5 separate regions of the Homo sapiens genome follow, and all the other regions are linked to region 3. Evidence: promoter capture Hi-C in 16 types of primary human blood cells and fetal thymus (Javierre and others, 2016). All regions are on one chromosome and are shown on one strand. The core of a region is centred on a gene start or on the middle of the fragment in contact, and the rest is flanking DNA. Distances in the headings are between cores, read along the strand shown. Region 1 has its middle 39 kb from the start of MIR5703. Region 2 overlaps MFF (mitochondrial fission factor). Region 3 holds the start of CCL20 (C-C motif chemokine ligand 20). Region 4 overlaps AGFG1 (ArfGAP with FG repeats 1). Region 5 has its middle 3.6 kb from the start of SCYGR1.

Evidence for each region. The method cuts DNA at HindIII sites, captures the fragments that hold promoters and counts their contacts. A CHiCAGO score of 5 or more calls a contact.
Region 1: a fragment that was not itself captured here is called in contact with the fragment with the promoter of CCL20 in region 3 in 1 of 17 cell types (monocytes); the score reaches 6.2 in monocytes.
Region 2: a contact is called between a fragment that was not itself captured here and the fragment with the promoter of CCL20 in region 3, in 6 of 17 cell types (monocytes, M2 macrophages, activated CD4 T cells and 3 more). The highest score is 10.9, in monocytes.
Region 4: a contact is called between a fragment that was not itself captured here and the fragment with the promoter of CCL20 in region 3, in 2 of 17 cell types (M2 macrophages and monocytes). The highest score is 5.2, in M2 macrophages.
Region 5: a contact is called between a fragment that was not itself captured here and the fragment with the promoter of CCL20 in region 3, in 2 of 17 cell types (monocytes and M0 macrophages). The highest score is 9.3, in monocytes.

What each region holds. Positions count from the first base shown.
Region 1 is chr2:227,431,548-227,434,247 of GRCh38, forward strand. No RefSeq gene overlaps it. Among named protein-coding and RNA genes, the nearest start is that of MIR5703, 39 kb to the right of the region's middle. The HindIII fragment of the contact is 1,364 bases long and covers 635-1,998 here.
Region 2 is chr2:227,332,270-227,334,969 of GRCh38, forward strand. It overlaps MFF (mitochondrial fission factor), which reads left to right. Exons shown (of 9, transcript NM_001277062.2): 4 at 150-319. Among named protein-coding and RNA genes, the nearest start is that of MFF, 8.4 kb to the left of the region's middle. The HindIII fragment of the contact is 1,684 bases long and covers 421-2,104 here.
Region 3 is chr2:227,812,488-227,815,187 of GRCh38, forward strand. It overlaps CCL20 (C-C motif chemokine ligand 20), which reads left to right and starts at 1,355. Exons shown (of 4, transcript NM_004591.3): 1 at 1,355-1,500. The coding sequence starts at 1,425. The HindIII fragment of the contact is 16,817 bases long and covers 1-2,700 here.
Region 4 is chr2:227,490,316-227,493,015 of GRCh38, forward strand. AGFG1 (ArfGAP with FG repeats 1) reads left to right here. Exons shown (of 13, transcript NM_004504.5): 2 at 1,232-1,325. Among named protein-coding and RNA genes, the nearest start is that of AGFG1, 20 kb to the left of the region's middle. The HindIII fragment of the contact is 1,066 bases long and covers 786-1,851 here.
Region 5 is chr2:227,383,005-227,385,704 of GRCh38, forward strand. No RefSeq gene overlaps it. Among named protein-coding and RNA genes, the nearest start is that of SCYGR1, 3.6 kb to the right of the region's middle. The HindIII fragment of the contact is 4,202 bases long and covers 1-2,700 here.

The DNA.
Region 1 (2,700 bases), core at 67-2,566, 380 kb before region 3:
ACTCAATCAAAAGTCTTAACTAGTTCCAGCATCAACTCAATCAAAAGTTGTAACTAGTTCCAACATCAGCTCAATCAAAAGTCGAAAGTCTCACCTGAGGCTCAAGGAAAATTTCTTCTACCTATGAGCCTCTAAAATAAAAAACGAGTTCCAAGATACAATGGCTGTACAGGCATTGGGTAAACATTCCTATTCCAAAAGGGAAATTGGCCAAAAGAAAGGGACAATAGGCCCCACACAAGTCCAAAGCCCAGCAGGAAAGACATTAAACTTTAAAGCTCCAGAATAATCCTTGACTCCATGTCCCACAACCAGGGTACACTGGTGTGAGGAGTGGGCTCCCAATGCCTTGGCCAGTTCCACCCCTGTGGCTTTGTAGGGTACAGCCCCCATGGCTGCTCTCATGGGTTGGAATTGAATGCCTGCAGCTTTCCAGGCTTAGGGTGCAAGCCGCTGGTGGCTCTACCACTCTTGGGTCTGGCAGACAGCAACCTCCTTCCCACAACTGCACTAGGAAGTGCCCCAGTGAGGACTCTCTGTGGGGGCTCCAACTACACATTTCCCCTTGTATTGACCTAGTAGAGGCTTTCTGTATGGGCTCTACCCATGAGGCAGGCTTCTGCCTGGACAACCAAGCTTTCCCAGAGATCCTCTAAAATCTAAGGGGAAGCTGCCAAACCTCTTTTACTCTTGCATTATGTGTGCCTGCAGACTTGCCACCACATAGAAACTGCCAAGGCTTAAGGCTTGTGATCTCCAAAGCAGCAGCCAGTTCTATGCATAGGGCCCTTTGAGGCATGCTGGACCTGGGGCTGGAGCAGCCAGGACGTGGGCAGCAGCCTCTCCTGAGTGACACAGAGAAGTGGGGCCCTGAGCCTGATCCCCGTAACCATTGTTGGTTTTTTTTTTTTGAGACAGAGTCTCGCTCTGTCGCCCAGGCTGGAGTGCAGTGGTGCGATCTTGGCTCACTGCAAGCTCCGCCTCCTGGGTTCACGCCATTCTCCTGCCTCAGCCTCCTGAGTAGCTGGGACTACAGGCGCCCACCACCATGCCCAGCTAATTTTTTGTATTTTTAGTAGAGATGGGGTTTCATCAAACCAGGATGATCTCGATCTCCTGATCTTGTGATCTGCCCACCCCGGCCTCCCATAACCATTCTTTTCTCCTAGGCCTTTGAGTCTGTAATGGAAGGGACTGTCCTGAAAACTTCTGAAATGCCTTCTGAAAAGTACTTGGCTCCCTTTTAGTCATGCAAATTACTCTAGCAAGTGGTTGCTTTGCAGCCCACCTCAATTCCTCTCCTGAAAACACTCTTTCCTTTTCTACCACATGGCAGATGCAGATTATCTAAATTAGCAGATTATCTAAATTTTTATGTTCTGCTTTTCCTTATAAGTTCCAACTTTATGTGTTTCCTTTTCTCCCAAATCGATCATAGGTTATTAAAAACAGCCACATCATTTCTTAAACACCTTGCTGCTTAGAAATTTCTTTTGCCAGATAACCTACATCATTGCTCTTAAGTTCAACCTTTCATAAGTGCCTAGGGCATGGACACATTGCAGCCAAGCTCTTTGCTAAGGCATAACACATGTGATTTTTAGTCCAGCTCCCAACAAATTTCTCATTTCCATCTGAGTCCTCATTAGCCGGGCCTTCACTATCCATATTTGTATCCACATTTTGGTCACATTCATTTAACCAGTCTCTAAGAAGTTCTAAACTTTCCCTTATTTTCCTGTCTTCTGAGCTCTCCAAACTCTTTAAACTTCTGCATATTACCCAGTTCCAAAGATGCTTCCACATGTTCAGGTAACTTTATAGCAACAAACACCCCACTCCTGGTACCAATTTTCTGTATTACTCCATTTTATGTCGCTATAAAGGAATATCTAAGACAAGGTAGTTTATTTTAAAAAAAGGTTATTTGGCTCATGGTTCTGCAGGCTGTACAAACATGGCACCAGCATCTATTTGGCTTTTGGTGAGGTCTCAGGAAGCTTTTACCTGTGGTGGATGCCACAGAGGGAGCAGGCATGTCACATGGTGACAGAGAAAGCAAGAAGGTGGGTGGAGGGGGGTGTGTTCCAGACTTCTTTAAACAACCAGCTCTCATGTGAGCTAACAGAGCAAGAACTCATTCATTACCATGGGGACTGCACTGAGCCACTCATGAGGAATCCATCTTCATGACCCAAACACCTCCCACCAGGCCCCACCTTCAACATTTGGGATCACATTTCTTTTTTTTTTTTTTTTTTTTTTCTTTTGAGACAGAGTTTCACTCTTGTTGCCCAGGCTGGAGTGCAATGGCGCAATCTCGGCTCACTGCAACATCCATCTCCTGGGTTCCAGTGATCCTCCTGCCTCAGCCTCCTAAGTACCTGGGATTACAGGCATGCACCACAATGCCTGGCTACTTTTTTGTATTTAGAAAAGACAGGGTTTCACCATGTTGGTCAGGCTGGTCTTGAACTCTTGACCTCAAGTGATCCACCCGCCTCAGCCTCCCAAAGTGCTGGGATTACAGGTGTGAGCCACCACACCCAGCTGGGATCACATTTCAACATGAGATTTGGAAGGGACAAAAAACACCCAAACCATATCAATAATTCGGTAGTATTTCTGGTAATATTCATTGAGATCCACTATATTCTTCAACATTTATACTCATGAACATTTTTCTCTTAAGATGAGAGA
Region 2 (2,700 bases), core at 13-2,512, 480 kb before region 3:
CCTGGAAGCATATTTTGAAAGAAACTAATGCTTATTGGGTGGTATAATTCAAAAGCAGAAGAAGGTAAATACATTTTAACAAAAATCACTGTCTTTTTAAAAAACCTCCCGCTTTTCTCTTCTTTGTCTCTTTTCTTGAAAACTCCTAGGAAATAATGAAGATGTTTCATTTTCAAGACCAGCAGATCTTGACCTTATTCAGTCAACTCCCTTTAAACCCCTGGCACTGAAAACACCACCTCGTGTACTTACGCTGAGTGAAAGACCACTAGATTTTCTGGATTTAGAAAGACCTCCTACAACCCCTCAAAATGAAGAAGTAAGTAGAACTTTAGTATCACCGGAATTTGAAATAATGTAGACAAAGGTAAAAGAGAAGAGCAAAGAGGCTTTATCATATCTTTAGCAATATGTCATGAAAGCTTTCCATATGGAACATTACTAATAATTCTAATTTACAAATGTGCCAAATAAGTTATTATGCTATTTTTAAAATTTGAATATTATGTTTTAGGAAAAATGTAAGTTTTGTGGTAAGTATTATTAAGTTCCTGTGGTTTGAAGAAAGAGCCTTTATGGGTAGGTGTTACTTGTTAAATAATAAGAAAATGTTGGGAAGTTTAGCAATAAGAAGTAAATGTATCACTTTGTTATAAAATCAGTCTAGCAAACAGGGCAAAGAAAACCCTTTTTCGCTTGACACTACCCATTCTCGCTACTTGATTAAAAGTTTCTACTGAGCTACTCTACTGCATCACGTTAATGTGCCAGTTGACCTAAATGTAGCAGTGTAGACTAACAAGGTGTTAGTAACAGAGTTCGAATCCTGCCTTTGTCATTGACTTACAGCTAACCTTTGAAGCTGCTTTGCCGTGATGATTGCTGGGGTTACATCTTTTTCATATAGCTTTTGAACTTCTAACATGTTGTCATGAAGCTAGTATGAGACAATGTGCAAACATATGTTTTTATTAATAATGGTACTGCTTGTGTCTGGTTTCATTTTGCATGTAATACTTTCCAAAGAGGGTAAAGCACCCATACTGTCTAGGGCAATGCAATTTTCTAGGATTAGGTTCTTAGATTGTAAGTTTCTGCTGACATAATTGAGGTAATATGCTCACAGTTAGTTTGGATATTCTAGGTATTTGGTGAAAAGCACTAAATCTGAGCCTTTACATGACAGAAAGGCACTAACATACTTGCAGAATTGTATTATTTAACAAACATTTTTTAACTTTTATCTCTGAGATACTATATGCAGTATAGGAATTAATGAGACATAGTTCCTGCATTCAAAAAGTTTGCTGTCTGTCTGGTTTCAGCAGGACAATGATATGAGTGAGGGAAAGACATCAACGCATGCAGAAGATACAAAATTCTTTAATAGCAGAAAATAATGAAAGTTACCAAGATGGTTACATAAAACAAAAGTATCCAGTGTGCTCCCAGTTTAAGGCCCAGCTTTCTAACTCCCCAAAGTTCCTTGGGAATTATACCTGTGAAAATAATTGTCTTACAGTGACGATTTTGCCAGGAAAGAAATGCTCCTTATTGTATTCTTCGGGTTTTTCTGTTGGTCTTTCTGCTTCTCCTAATTGAAAGCAACCCAAGCAATTCCCTGATTGATTATTTTAAGAGTGAGTGAAGAAAGTTTGCCGGGATTTCCCTCAGTAGACCCAGGCTTTAAGACTCTACGGGGTTCATTCCTGCATTAATTGTGATATTTAGTCAAATGTGATAGATGTTCAGAGTGTATAACACTGGGGTAAAAAAGTTTGTGTGAGAATTAGAACTAATTTTGAAGACCTACTTTGCCATTTACTAACCACATAACTTTGGGCAAGTTATTTAACAGTTCTAGGGCGTATCTCTGAAATAAAGATAAGAATAATGCCAAGTGCATGAGATTGTTATGAGAATTAAATGTAATCATGCATGTTCTAATTCGTGTTAAAAGCTCAATATATATAAATGTTATTGTTAGGAGAGACTTAAAATCCTGTGGCAGGAGCCAGATCCTGAAATGAAAGACGAGTTTCTGAGATTAATACCAGCTGCTTATTGAAAGCAAAGATGATGGTTTGGACTTCAAGTTTATACAAGCTTATAGAAGGGTCCAGTAGCCTTCAAGAAGCACTCAACTGCAGTGAGCAAGGGAGGAAGGGGTAAGGGAGCCAGGGTTCTAGTAGCTTCTAGAAATTGACTGAAATAGAGAAGCAGTAAGGGCCTGAGTACTGATAACATTGATGATTCATTCAGGTGTTAACTCAGAATCGATAAAGTGAGATCCCCAGAACATTTGCTCTGTATCATTCTGCAGTGGATGCTAGAATGAGGTAGAGCAATAGTGCTCTACCTCAGCACTGTTGGCATTTTGGACTGGAAAATTCCTTGTTGTGGTGAGAGCCACCTTTTTGCACTGTAGAATGTTTGCAACATTTGTGATCTCTATCTACAAGATGCCATTACCGTCTTCCAAGTCATGATATCCAAAAATGTCTGTAATAGCAAAAAGGTGGAAGCAAGTAAAATATCCATCAGCTGATGAATGGATAAGCAAAACATCATCTAGCCATATAGTAACTCTTATTCAGCCATAAAAAAATGAGGTACTGGCTGGGTGCGGTGGCTCATGCCTGCAATCCCAGCACTTTGGGAGGCTGAGGTGGGCAGATCACTTGAGGTCAGGAGTTCAAG
Region 3 (2,700 bases), core at 105-2,604:
GCCTGGGCAACATGGTGAAACCACGTCTCTACTAAAAATACAAAAATTCGCTGGGCGTGGTGGCACGTGCCTGTAGTCCCAGCTACTCAGGAGGCTGAGGCAGGCGAATCGCTTGAACCCAGGAGGCGGAGGTTGTAGTGAGCCGAGATGGTGCCACTGCACTCCAGCCTGGGCAACAAGAGCAAAATTCTGTCTCAAAAGAAATTATAATAATAAAATAAAATAAAATTTCCTATTCTTCCCTTCAATTCTGTCAGTTTTTGCTTTCTGTAGTTTGGGGTGCTACTGTTAGGTATATATATGGTTATAGGTTTTACATCTTCCCAATGGGTTAATTTTGTGTTACCATGAAAGTCCCTTTTTATTTCCGGTAACATTAAAAAAAAATCTATTTTGTCTGATATAGGCATCACCAACTCCAGTTCTCTTTTGTTTACTGTTTGGTATACCTTTCTTTTGATCCTTTTACTTTCAACCTATTTGGGTCTAGTGGAGAGTTCTTATACTGCCTTAGGTTAGGGATTCATATTACATTATCATCATTAGTACTGTTATTTGACATTTGCTGTGCTGACTAGCTACTGCTGATAGGTTTTCTTTCCTCAACAATTCTGAGGCTCTATATTGAGTTATATTAGTACATCATCATGGAGAGTTAAAGGTAGGTAAGGATTATTTTCTGAACTGCAATATTGATTAAAGCCATGTGAATGTATAAGATTCTTAGAAGAGTTGACATTAAATCAAGGTGAAGCTGAGGTTTGAGCCTTACTTAAAGGCTGATATTTTCCACTCTAACTGCGGACAGTACTGTAGCACTGTTATAGTACCTGCTCTGAATGTTAGTCTAGCAACTCAGGGTCTTCTTCATGACAGCTGAACCTCAACCATGTGATGGTAAATGTGTAGCAGAGTATGCCTGGCATCCCACCTGCTCCTCCTCCCCCTCCTCCTTGACTGGTTCTGGAAAGCAAATAGGGTGTAACAATAGGAGTTCTGGAATGTTCCTGTGTGGGGCTGACCTTTGTATCGCTGTTAATCCTCTATTTTCAGACACAAAAATGATTAAGTTAAAACTGGATGAAAGTCTTTTCTGGGTCACAGGGCTGAGCTGCTTTTGCTCTTTGCAAATACAAAGAATTTAACAGGATTCTCCCCTTCTCAACTTCCTGTCCCCCACCCTGACCTTCGCACCTTCCCAATATGAGGAAAAAGCAGGAAGTTTTCCTTGCGGGTTTTTTTTATGATGACATGATGGGGCCAGTTGATCAATGGGGAAAACCCCATGTGGCAACACGCCTTCTGTGTACATTCCCAATATTTGCTATAAATAGGGCCATCCCAGGCTGCTGTCAGAATATAACAGCACTCCCAAAGAACTGGGTACTCAACACTGAGCAGATCTGTTCTTTGAGCTAAAAACCATGTGCTGTACCAAGAGTTTGCTCCTGGCTGCTTTGATGTCAGTGCTGCTACTCCACCTCTGCGGCGAATCAGAAGGTAAGTGTCGCTCTTTCCGCTAGCACAGAAGAAAGACTATTTTCATTTTCCTTTTAGCCTTGAGCTCAACTGGGGGTCCCTAAGGGATGGAAAACTGTTAGGAAGTATACAAGAGGTAGTGATGGAAGTTGTCTGCCCATGGTGGAGTGGAGGAGAGAAGAGTTACTGCTGCGGATCAGGCTTTCCTCTCTGCTGTCAATCTCAGCAGATTTGGGGAGTGGTGGGCTCTTAGAGATCCCTAAACTTCAGGATAAAGCCAAAGTGATGTTTCTGGGAGTGATATAAAGTGTGTAATGTTACCAGTAGATGGGGCCATTTTGAAATGTAGAGAATCCTCCTGTGTCCCCAACTTTCGTACCTCCCAACTTAATAGTTTTGGTAAAGTTCAAAACTCATCCTTTAGAAGTAGATTATAATACCTGACATCAACATCCCCACAAGGCATGGGGGACATTGCTTGCCAACTTTAAAATAACATTAATCCCTTACCTTACAGCATGTTGTAATCTGACTCGGGAATGTCCAAGTATTGCTTTATTGCTCAATAGTCACACAACACTTTTAGCAACAGGTGCATTCCTAAAAATGCACATTGAATTTTTTTTTTTTTCTGAGGCAGGGTCTAACTTCATCACCCAGGCCAGAGTGCAGTGGCATGATTACAGCTCACTACAGCCTCAACCTCCTGGAGTCAAGTGAACCTCCAGTCTCAGCCTCTTGAATAACAGGGACCACGGCCGTGTGCCACTCACCTGGCTAATTTTTTTACATTTTTTTTTTTTTTGTAGAGACAGGGTTTCACTGTGTTGCCCAGGCTGGTCTCGAACTCCTGGAGGCAAGCAATCCTTCCTCCTTGGCCTCCCAAAGTGCTGGGATTACAGGCATGAGCCACCATGCCCAACCACATGTTGAACTTTTATGAACAAAATTAAACATTCCTATTAATTAATAGGACAATTTCAAAGTGTTTTCACTCCTATAAATCATATTTCCCTTTGTAGCTCTATTTCTCAATACTTAGTAGCCAGATAATAGATTAAAATCTGCCAATTTATTCATTTTCTGCTTTTGGAAGTTTATCTACATAAGGGTTCCTTCAAGCAGTAGGGAAGGGGCTGCTCATATTCTTGAATGATTATAGTGAACTGAAATGAAATATTGTCAATTTGTATTTCTTACTGAAGATATCCCACTTATGAG
Region 4 (2,700 bases), core at 69-2,568, 320 kb before region 3:
CGCCTGTAATCCCAGCACTTTGGGAGGCCGAGGCAGGTGGATCACGAGGTCAGGAGATTGAGAACATCCTGGCTAACACGGTGAAACCCTGTCTCTACTAAAAATACAAAAAATTAGCCGGACGTGGTGGCGGGTACCTGTAGTCCCAGCTACTCAGGAGACTGAGGCAGGAGAATGGCGTGAACCCGGGAGGTGGAGCTTGCAGTGAGCCGAGACTGCGCCACTGCACTCCAGCCTGGGCGACAGAGCGAGACTCCGTCTCAAAAAAAAAAAAAAAAATTACTGCAGTAATTGCTGTAGAACCTAGAGTTCAAATGAGACCTTTGTCAGAGAACATGACCCCAAAGTAGTTCTGTGGAACTTTGCGTAGGTTACTTGGTATTTTGCATAGATTATTGGGCCATTATTCTTGTGGGTGGACCTGCCCACAAGATAGTTGGACAACATGTAAATAGTTATTAAATCTGTTTGAGTGCATTTCCACTCGGTTTTTCATGTGCGTGTTCAAACATCAAGGTAAAGTCCTTTTAAGGCCATCCATACAGAAAAGGCTTCAGGGTTCTAAAGGACCTTAAAAATTGTTAAATCATGCATGCAGCAATTTTTTTGAATCTCTTCCGTATGTCCCTGCAGTTTCCTCTTGTACACACTGTCTTTTGAGGTGACTGAAAATGTTCTTTATTATAAATTCTTACTTGAATTGATGGCAAGATAGGACTTTACTAATTGGTTTATTACCTCAATTCATGATATTACTTGTAATATAGTTTTCTAAATTAGTCTTAAGCTTATTTAAAGCTAACAGCTGTTTGATAAGGATATTTGTATAGCTCTGGTCTTATTATATCATTGTTTCTTAGGAAATATGAAATATTTAAAGAATTTTAATAATTCTTTCATAGAGTTCTTCATATGTATAGTCTTTTCATCAGAAACACACTAAAGCACTATTTGCATTTCCTAGAAACTCATGTGTCACAGTTACTTTGTGTTTTTAACTAGGTGGTTAATTGAATTTATTGTTAAGTCTATTATTTAATGAGTCTAACCAAACCTTAATATCTATTATTAAGTTTAATAGTTTAAAATAATTTAAAAATACTTTGAGTTTATGGAATGAAAACACTGTTTCAAGTTTGTGTGTTGGTTAGAAATATTTTGAATTACTAGATGTGTCATTTTAAAAATGTGGTATGTACTAGTAAATTTTGTAAAATATTTTATCTTTTAGGCGAGGATTAAATCCACCACACAGGGTGAAATCTATCTCCATGACAACATTCACACAACAGGAAATTGAATTCTTACAAAAACATGGAAATGAAGTAAGTGGTTTTTTTTTTTTTTTGCAATTTTTGACTTTTTTGTTGGCAGTCATTTTAATGAGATTTAATAAGTTATTTAAAACGTTGAATTTCACGGTCTAAATAAGTTATTTTTGTATTTTATATTTAGATATTTTAAAATGTACTCATTTAATAATGTATTTGGAATTAATGTTTACTACATAAACACTTTACCGTAAATCTGAGGTGAAATGTGTGTATTTAAAAGTCATCAGTCTTGAATATAAAAGGCGTTTCGGAGGACACCCATTATTACAGTTATTGTTAGTCTTCGCTTCAAAAGTCAAAAAAGAGGAAGAGAATTCATTTTGTGATGTTGTGTTAAACTTGTTAGAGTGTTGTGTGATCAGCTTTCACTTGAAGTCCTCTATTTTTCGTAAATTTTTAACTTTGGACGTGTAGGTGATGTGTAATGTTTAGCAGGTGCTCAGTAGGGAGGAGGTTAGTAGTTCTCAGTGGCAGCTAAGTGTCATGGGGAGCCAGATGGTATAAAGATTTGGATGGAAGCTTTTTTTCTTCTTGCCTTTAATGGGCTTCCAGTAATTCTATTCTGTTTGCTTGTTTGCTTTTAGCTCTGTGTTTTGCTATTAGTAAAAGTTTTTAAAATTTTTCTAATATTTTTAAAATTAATAAAATTAACAAAGAGAGTGGGCATTTTTTTATAATCCTGCAATAAGGATGAGCCAGTTAACCCAAGCTGATTAATAATAGCTATTATTATTTGACAGAAAAGTCTCCTTTTCTAGAAAGGATAAGTAGTACTTTAGTGGTACTCTTCTGGTTGCATCTTTGATATCCTTAATAAACATAAAGTAAGTTAAATATTAAAATTTTATTAGTTTTAATCTTCTCCTTGGACCCTTAGAAAATATATGCAAGCATTTTACACTCTGCCTTTCTTCCTAATACTCTGAAAGTAATACCTTAAAATTGTTTGCCTACTTGTGATGTCCACTTGCTTTTGGTTCTAAAATAGTGAGGAAATATAAATTCACAGCTATGAAATATTTTTAAATATTTCATATTAAATTATTTAAAGAAGAGAGCACATTTTGAAGTCTCCAGATTTTGCCGATGACAAATTATTTTGAGTATTCAGATTCCAGACTAATGTGAGTACATTATAAGAACATGTAAAGCTGGATGAAAAGGTAGGAGGCTTTTAATGAAGAGTAAGCATAGAATAATATATATATTGATTAAAATACAATTTGAACTACTTGTGTAAAGTTTACAAGTAGGATTAACTTAACATTGCACACTTGAAGTTACTTTCTTAGAATGTTGGCTTAGTGTGCAAAATTTTGGAAATTAGAATGGAATCAGAAATAAAGAATATTATTCTATCTTTAGA
Region 5 (2,700 bases), core at 59-2,558, 430 kb before region 3:
ACTAGAAGTCTCTACCATATTTAAATTCATGAGCTTAACCAGGCTTGGTGGCTCACACCTATAATCCCAGCTACTTGGGAGGCTGAGGTGGGAGGAGTGCTTGGGGCCAGGAATTCAAGACCAGCTAGGGCAACATAGAAAGACCCCATCCCTACAAAAAATAAAAATAACAGCCAGGCACGGTGGCTTATGCCTGTAATGGCAGTGATTTGGGAGGTTGAGGTGAGAGAATCATCTGAGGTGAGGAGTTTGAGACCAGCCTGGAGACCCCATGTCCACAAAAATATTTAGCCAGGTATGGTGGCACATACCTAAATCCCCACCTACTCAAGAGGCTGAGGCGGAAGGATTGCTTGAGCCCAGAAGTTGGAGGTTGTAGTGAGCTATGATCATGCCACTGCACTCCAGCCTGAACGACAGAGTGAGACCCTTCTGTAGAAAAAGAAAAATAAATAAAAATAATAAAAATACAATACAATACAATGAAATCATGAACGCTGCTGGGAGAAACAGAGAAACCAATCTATACAAACAGAAGGAGGAGGAGAGACAGAGAGGAGAAATATGCAGGAAGAGGAGGTAGGAGACCACACAGCTTTAGAGGGTGGTAGAGAAAGGGTGACTGCTTGGTTTCTCAATGGCATTTTACGTCTTAATTTCTACCCTATGAAAACTGACTGCAGACTCTGTCTTTGTTTTCTATGAGATGCCTCTATATTATTATCCTTTCATATTGTTTTTAGTGGGTTTCTATTTTTCTGCAACCAAAAGAGCTAAAACTAAAAGTTGCTAAAACCAAGGATGGAAAAGTATGCAAATAACTTGTCACATGGCGTGCCAAAACAGCAAAAGCCTTGGAGTTCAGAAAAAGGAAGATTCCATCAAGAAGGGCTGGGAGCCAGGATTCCACACAGCTTTGGAGCGTGGCTAGAATTTGGTATAAAAGATAGAAGGGCGTTTCATAGACTAGTGTCAGTTAGTTGCAGAAAACTGAAATTCTAGCTATGGAATTGGGAAGAGATGTAATGGGAGAATCATGTGTACAAAATTGCTGGAAGGGCTAGAAAAGCAGCCTCTAGACTTATCTGCAGAAATGCTTCGCAGGTCCCGACTGCTGAACTGGCCCGGGAGATGCCGCTGTCCCTGCAGTAGCCAAAAAGGCAGGGAAGGCTGGGCACTGTGGCTCAAGCCTGTAATCCCAGCACTTTGGGAGGCCAAGGTGGGTGGATCACCTGAGGTTAGGAGTTTGAGACCAGCCTGGCCAACATGGTGAAACCCCGTCTCTATTAAAAATACAAAAATTGGCCGGGTGTGATTGCAGACGCCTGTAATCCCAGCTGCTTGGGAGTCTGAGGCAGGAGAATCACTTGAACCTGGGAGGCGGAGGTTGCAGTGAGCCAAGATCACGCCACTGCACTCCAGCCTGGGCAACGAGAGCGAGACTCTGTCAAGAAAAAAGGCGGGGACATCAAGAAGCCACCTCTGGAACGATTAAGTTCACAAACACCCCAGTACGGCTGCGGTCCAGGAACCATTGCCGCTGTTGTCATCACCACTCTGCACACCCCGGGTTAGTGATTGAATGCTACAACACTGAATTTACCTCCGCCTCCTGGGCTGAAGTGATTCTCCTGCCTCAGCCTCTCAAGTAGCTGGGATTATAGGCACCTGCCAACACGCCCAGCTAATACAAAAATTGGTTGGGTGGGGTGGTGGGTGCCCAGCTGACTACAGCTGCCTCTGCAACTGGTTATTAACTTGCATGACGCTATCTGGACCCAGGAACATTGCTGCAGTGCAGAAAACTCAACTCCTCCACCCTAATCTTCCTTATCAGCAACAACAGATAAAAGGTGGAGGAAAATGACCTTCACCTCATTTCTGCCTTTTATACCCCTCAGGGGTTGATCTAATTCTTGCAATATCCAGATCCCAGATGCAGAGAATTCTGTGCCATGTAATTTCTAATCATCTCAGCCTCTGCTATATGGAAAAAAAGCAAATACTAGAGGGACATGGAAATGGCTATTGAGCAAGAGAGTTCACCATAGCCACCACTATGATCTCATTTAAATGGTACGGAGGAAACTTTCTCTAGAATATCTAGATCCTTTTATAAGAATCTGAACCATGTTTGTGCTTGTAACTCTAGAATGACATGCAACATTTTAAACAACAAATCAAAACTACCTAGTTAATTCAAATGAGAACAGTGTTAATGGTATTAGAAAAACTTGTGTTTGGCACGGTGGCTCACGCCTGTAATCCCAGCACTTTGGGAGGCCCAGACAGGTGAATCACTTGAGCCCAGGAGTTTGAGACCAGCCTGGGCAATGTGGTGAGACCCTGTTTCTACAAAAAAATACAAAAAATAAGCCAAGCATGGTAGCACACATCTGTGGTCCCAGCTACTCAAGAGGCTGAGGTGGGAGGATTGCTTGAGCCTGGGAAGCGGAAGTTGCAGTGAGCCGTAATCACACTACTGCACTCCAACCTGGGTGACAGAGTGAGATGCTATCTCAAAAAGAAAAAAAAAAAAGAAAAACTTTTCTTTGAAGAATGATCTACTGCAGGGACCAGTTTCACTACTTCCAGGGGAAATTCATGTGATACAAATGGGAATTAAACACCCACCAGAGTTACCTCAGGGTATCCCCTTCTAAACACACTGCAGTCAAATCAGCTAGGAGTTTTACTAGA